Linked DNA regions of Homo sapiens: region 1 is linked to region 2. The links are contacts of gene promoters, found by promoter capture Hi-C in blood cells and fetal thymus (Javierre and others, 2016). All regions are on one chromosome and are shown on one strand. Each heading gives the region's core, a stretch centred on a gene start or on the middle of the fragment in contact. The rest is flanking DNA. Distances are from core to core; before and after follow the strand shown. Region 1 holds the start of DNAJC30 (DnaJ heat shock protein family (Hsp40) member C30). Region 2 overlaps MLXIPL (MLX interacting protein like).

What was found. Contacts are between HindIII fragments. The CHiCAGO score rates a contact against its expected background, and 5 or more counts as called.
Region 1: the fragment with the promoter of DNAJC30 here is called in contact with a fragment that was not itself captured in region 2 in 17 of 17 cell types (erythroblasts, naive CD8 T cells, endothelial precursors and 14 more); the score reaches 14.8 in erythroblasts.

What each region holds. Positions count from the first base shown.
Region 1 is chr7:73,681,596-73,684,845 of GRCh38, reverse strand. It overlaps DNAJC30 (DnaJ heat shock protein family (Hsp40) member C30), which reads left to right and starts at 1,393. Exons shown (of 1, transcript NM_032317.3): 1 at 1,393-3,250. The coding sequence starts at 1,423. The coding sequence ends at 2,103. BUD23 (BUD23 rRNA methyltransferase and ribosome maturation factor) reads right to left here and starts at 1,249. Exons shown (of 12, transcript NM_017528.5): 1 at 1,173-1,249; 2 at 1,042-1,079. The coding sequence starts at 1,220. RefSeq lists enhancers at 1-541, 1,472-1,641, 1,882-1,971. The HindIII fragment of the contact is 21,940 bases long and covers 1-3,250 here.
Region 2 is chr7:73,597,868-73,600,986 of GRCh38, reverse strand. It overlaps MLXIPL (MLX interacting protein like), which reads left to right. Exons shown (of 17, transcript NM_032951.3): 8 at 1,292-1,461. Among named protein-coding and RNA genes, the nearest start is that of TBL2, 21 kb to the right of the region's middle. The HindIII fragment of the contact is 1,034 bases long and covers 788-1,821 here.

The sequences.
Region 1 (3,250 bases), core at 144-2,643, 84 kb before region 2:
TTCAAGCTATTCTCCTGCCTCAGCCTCCCGAGTAGCTGGGGTTACAGAAACCCGCCATCGCGCCCGGCTAATTTTTTCCATTTTTAGTAGAGCTGGAGTTTCGCCATGTTGGCCAGGCTGGTCTCGAACTCCTGACCTCAGGTGATCCGTCTGCCTCAGCCTCCCAAAGTGTTGCGATTACAGGCGTGAGACACCGCGCCAGCTTCCCCCCGCCCCCATCCCCCCCCCTTTTTTTTTTTTTTAACGACTCGAGGTGCGCTGGCTCACGCCTGCAATCCCAACAGTTCGGGAGACGAAGGCGGGAGGATCGCTTGAGCCCTGGGCTTGGGCCACCTTGGGCAACACAGCGAGACCCCATCGCAACAAAAATTTACAAAAAAAAGCCAGGCGTAGTGGCGCGCGCCTGTGGTCCCAACTACTGGAGAGGCAGAGGGGAGCCACCACACCCGGCTAATTTTTTTATTACTTGCGGAGACGGGGGCTCGCTACGTTGCCCAGGCTGGTCTCGAACCCCTGAGCTCAAGCGATCCTCCCGCCTCAGCCTCCCAAAGTGCTGCGATTGCTGAGATTACACGCGTGAGCCACTCCCACCTGGCTACAACTCAGTAGTTATACAAACTACCCTCTATGAAATTCAGACAATAATACACCAACTGCTGTCTTGGAGATTTATTGGCAACAAGGCGCCACGATAAGCATCCTACGGCCATTACTTCCTTCCCCCCACCAGGACTGACCCCTCGCCCGTACCCACCGCCCAGCGCCTCTTTTACCACATGTTTAGGACAAATTGTCACATTCGACTTTGAAAACCACCCACGGAAAGCAAGCGCGATCACCCCTACCTCAACGCTGAGGTACCGAGGCCCAGAGAGGTCGGCAACTTAAAGTTGATTTACCAGAGACAGAAATCGGCACCCACCCGGGTCCTTCCCTTCCCGCACCCCCAAATTCTACGGCCTTTCCGGGCAACGCCAGCAACAGGGGCAACTTGCCGCTTCCCGACCCCCGGACGCCCCGCAGTATTCAGGCTCCCCTCACTTGCGAACGTATTTCCGGGCTTCTGTCTCGTCATAAAACTGCGAAAAAGAGAAAATGGCATGTAGAGGAATAATTCAGACGCGGTGGCCGCAGAAGTGGGGAGAGGGGTGTCCGCGGGCCCCGGGACTTACCAGCTCTGGGGGTCCGCCATGCTCCGGACGCCGGCCGCGGGACGCCATTCTCACGCCTCAGCAGCACACCTGCGACTGGCGCCTGCCGGCACCCGGTTTTTATGTCATCAGCCCGGCGACCGCTTAGTAATACGCATGTTCCACCCCCACGACCGCCCCGCCCCCCCCTTTACGTGACTGGCCACAGGGCGACCAACCGACTCCTCTCATTGGCCGGTTTCTCTTGCACCGCCTGCCGAATCAATTCAACATGGCAGCCATGCGCTGGCGATGGTGGCAGCGGCTGTTACCTTGGAGGTTGCTGCAGGCCCGTGGCTTTCCACAAAATTCTGCACCCAGCCTGGGCCTAGGAGCGAGGACTTATTCCCAGGGCGACTGCTCGTATTCGCGCACGGCGCTGTATGATCTGCTCGGCGTCCCCTCCACAGCCACGCAGGCCCAAATCAAGGCGGCTTACTACCGTCAGTGCTTTCTCTACCACCCGGACCGCAACTCCGGGAGCGCGGAGGCCGCCGAGCGCTTCACGCGCATCTCCCAGGCCTACGTGGTGCTGGGCAGTGCCACCCTCCGTCGCAAGTATGATCGCGGCCTACTCAGCGACGAGGACCTGCGCGGACCTGGCGTCCGGCCCTCCAGGACGCCCGCACCCGACCCCGGCTCGCCGCGTACCCCGCCGCCCACCTCTCGGACCCACGACGGTTCTCGGGCCTCCCCCGGCGCCAACCGCACGATGTTCAACTTTGACGCCTTCTACCAGGCCCACTACGGGGAACAACTGGAGCGGGAACGGCGCCTGAGGGCCCGGCGGGAGGCCCTTCGCAAACGGCAGGAGTATCGGTCCATGAAAGGCCTCCGCTGGGAGGATACCCGAGACACGGCTGCCATTTTCCTCATCTTTTCAATCTTCATCATCATCGGCTTTTATATTTAATCGGAGAGAGAAGGGAAGGGGAGTGTCCCCAGCCAACCCCCCAGAAACGGCCTTTTTTCCTGCCTCTGAACCCTTGGCCATTGATAGTCTACCTTTGCTGGGATCCGAAGGAACTGTACTCCCCCTGCCCTCCCCGACCCGCCCAGCTTAGCCGATGACCTGCACATCGCTCCACTGTGGTCCAGAAAAGGAGGCCTTTCGATGTCTGAGAAAGAGGCCCCACGCTGTAGAGTCCCGAAAGCCCAGGAGTGAAGGGGGTTCCTGGAGTCTCTAGGGTGCTTCTTCCAGAGTCTGTCTTCTTGCTTCCAGATGTGGTCAACTTCTGGAACACTCGCTGTAGCTTTATTGTTTAGCCCCAAGCAAGATTTATCTCCTCCTGCCCCGCATGTGTATGGTGGGCCTCTGTAACCTTGAAATGTGCAATGTGACCAATTGTTGACTACCAAAAGAAAAGGTCTGGGGTTGTACGAAACTTGTCTTTCTGTGACTTCCCCAAGCCGCAGGTGAGACCTGGTCCAGGGTAAGAATGGGATCGGTGGAGAGCCTGTCGTTCCTCCCGCTAAGGTCAGCCCCCTGGGGCACTCCTCCTTATGTTGATAGCATGTAGGAGTGAGAAAAAGTCATTGAGCATAAGGAATGAGTGTTCCTGTGCCCATATTTAATGTGTGACCTTGGAGAAGTTACTCTGTAGGCATGACAGCAGAGGAGAAAATCATTTGGCATCTTGAGGTCTGTCATGCTTTATTATCCATAGTTTTTGGGGGGTTTTTTGTTTTGTTTTGTTTTTGAGATGGAGTCTTGCGCTCTGTTGCCCAGGCTGGAGTGCAGTGGTGCGATCTTAGCTCACTGCAACCTCCACCTCCCGGGTTCAAGCGATTCTCCTGCCTCAGCCTCCTGTGTAACTGGGATTACAGGCTCCCACCACACCTGGCTAGTGTTTTGTATTTTTAGTAGATACGGGGTTTCACCATGCTGGCCAGACTGAGGTCTCGAACTGCCGACCTCAGGCTGTCTGCCCGTCCAGCCTCCCAAAGTGCTGGGATTGCAGGCATGAGCCACTGCTCCCGGCCCTATTATCCATAGTTCTAATCCACAGGGATTACAGCATAATGCTAGCAGGGCCAGGTTCATCCTTGAGACAGTGTGG
Region 2 (3,119 bases), core at 55-2,554:
AGAGGCCTCAGGAGCTGGCACGGATCACAGGCTGGTCAGGGTCAGAGAAAGGTGCCCGGAAGGGAGCGGGTGGGCGGGCGGCGCCCAGGCCCGGGATGTGGTCAGGCCGTGGCCAGCTGCTTCCCAAAACCAGAATAGCCCAGGACTTACACAACCCGCACCCCAAACAATCCGCTACTGCCTCCCCCAGCTCTCGCAGGCTTCCCAGACCCCTTGCCCCACCCCACTCAGAGCCCACCCTTAGGCCCCTCTCGCCCCCACCCCACTCAGAGCCCACCCTTAGGGCCCCTCTCGCCCCCACCCCTTTCGGAGCCCAGCCTTAGGCCCCTCTCGCCCCCACCCCACTCGGAGCCCACCCTTAGGCCCCCTCTCATCCCCACCCTACTTGGAGCCCACCCTTAGCCCCTCTTGCCCCCACCCCACTTGGAGCCCAGTCTTAGGTCCCCCTTCACCCCCCCCCCACTTGGAGCCCACCCGTATCCCCCTCTTGCCCACACCCCACTCAGAACCCACCCTTAGGCCCCTCTCGCCCCCACCCCACTCAGAGCCCACCCTTAGCCCCTCTTGCCCACACCCCACTTGGAGCCCAGCCTTAGGCACCCCCCTCACCCCCATCCCACTCAGAGCCCACCCATATCTCCCTCTTGCCCACACACCACTCAGAGCCCACCCTTAGGCCCCTCTCGCCCCCACCCCACTCGGAGCCCAGCCTTAGGCCCCTCTCGCCCCATTACACTCTTCACCCCACTCCTAGGCTCCACCTGTTGACCTTCCAACAAACCAAGCTTGTCCCGGACCCAGTGACCTCACGTTCCCCCTCATCTCCAACTCACCCTCTTGAACTTCTGCCACCCTGGGGCCCCTCCCATGCCAGGCCTCCTCCCCTAGCACCGTACCCCTTTTCCACCCTGGCACTCGCTCTGGGCACCCCCTTTCTGCACCTCCAGCAGATCAGGGAAGGGGAGCCACCAGGGGGTGGGGAGGGGGACTTCCTGAGCTAAGCCTGGGGCTGGGGAGGGGAGGGGGCTCCTTCCTGGGGTCCCTGTTCACATCCACAGTCCCCTGCTCTCTCCCACGCAAGCTCATTCCACCCAAGACGGTTGCTGCTTCCCCTAATCGAGACAGAAACCCTCCCAGTTTCACAATCTTCTGTGGAAGGGACCCCCACCCTCTGCCCGCCAGTCCCCATGTCCCCACCCGCCAAGGCTGGGGACAGGCCACTCTCCTCTCAGCTGTTTCCCAGCCATAGCCCTGGCCCTAACTGCTGTTGCCCTGTGTGTCTGAATTACAGATTTCTTTACCAACTCCCGCCTCCCACAGCCGCCCATGCCTTCAAACTTCCCAGAGCCCCCCAGCTTCAGCCCCGTGGTTGACTCCCTCTTCAGCAGTGGGACCCTGGGCCCAGAGGTGCCCCCGGCTTCCTCGGCCATGACCCACCTCTCTGGACACAGCCGTCTGCAGGTGAGCTCACCCCACCCCGTCCAGCCCTGTGTAGCTCACTTGAGAGCTGTTCCTGCCCTGTTCATGTCCAGGAGGTATCAGACACTCCCTGAGTGCCCAGTCTTCTGCTTGGAGATTGGAGGGAAAGAAAGACCCCATCTCTGCCCTCTGGGAGGGACCCCGTGAAGCAGAACTGGACAAAACGGTTGTGGGAGAAAGCTAAGGGCATGGAGACCATGGAATGGGCTCCACCAAGGGCCAGTTGCTTGTGGAAGGCTTCCTGGAGAAGGGGAGTTTCTGGGCCTTAGAGAATAGGTCAGCTTTGGACAGAAGGGACTGGCTGACCTCAAGCCAGATGGGAGAACAGCAGGAACAAAAGCTTCGAGGCAGAAAGCTGAGCGTGGATGTTTAGGAAACAGTGAATCTACCATTTTGGTTCATCAATTCCCCATATGCAATTCTTTTTTTTTTTTTTCTTTGAGACAGAGTCTCACTCTGTCGCCTAGGCTCGAGTGCAGTGGCATGATCTCGGCTCACTGTAACCTCCGCCTCCCGTGTTCAAGCGATTTCCGGCTTATTTTTGTATTTTTAGTAGAGACAGGGTTTCACCATGTTGCCCAGGCTGGTCTCAAACTCCTGACCTCAGTAGTCCGCCCGCCTCGGCCTCCCAAGGTGGTGGGATTACAGGTGTGAGCCACCACACCTGGCCCCCAGGTGCAGTTCAGAAGTTGCTTCCTGCTGCTTGGTTATAGGCCTTTTCCCTCCATCATCAGACTTTTCAGGTGCTAATTCTAATCGGTTGCTGAGGGGTGTCTCTCCTCCATCAGACAGTGAGCTCCTTACTGAAAGGGTTATGTTTTGCTCACCACTGCATTCTCTATACCTAATACAGCTCAGGCACATAACAGCACTCAGTGAATGGTTGTCCAATGAGTGAGTCAGTGACTGAATGAATGAGCAAGTGTGCAGATGAATGGGCGTGCTGGTGAATGGATAGATGCATCTTAGACTGCGGTGGAGGCACACGTGGGTTGGTGGATATATGGGTAGGTGAGTGGTTGGGTGGATGGGTGGGCTGGTGGATGGATACATAGATGAATAGTTTAATGGATTAGTGAATGGGTTCATTGGTGGTTAAGTGGCTGGAAATGTATAGATGGTGGATGGATGGAAGGATTATGGATGGGTTGGTGGATGAATGATGGAAGTATAGATGGTTGGATGGATTAGTTAATATGTTAATATCTGGTAGGCTGGTGGAGAGAGTGGTAGATGAGCTGGTTCATAGATTGATAAATAGGTAGGTGAATGGATGGAAGACGGATGGATGGAGAGATTGGTGGATGAAGTAGTAGATGGACAATTGATGAATGGATGGGTGGGTTGGTTAGTGGATGGATTGGTGAAGTTAGTGGATGGATGATGAAGGAATGGTAGGTTGGTTGGTGGATGGATCAGTGGACAAGTTAGTGGATGGATGGATGATGAATGGATGGGTGAGTTGGTTGGTGGATGGATTGGTGGACAAGTTAGTGGATGGATGGATGAATAAGTTATTTGGGAGACAAATGGACGGGCAGGAAGATTGATGCTCCGCTGTTCCTGCTTTTTGCATAAATGTACTCGACTCCCTCCTCTCATTGTAATTTCCCTGCTGCATGTATATGTTCGCACACCTG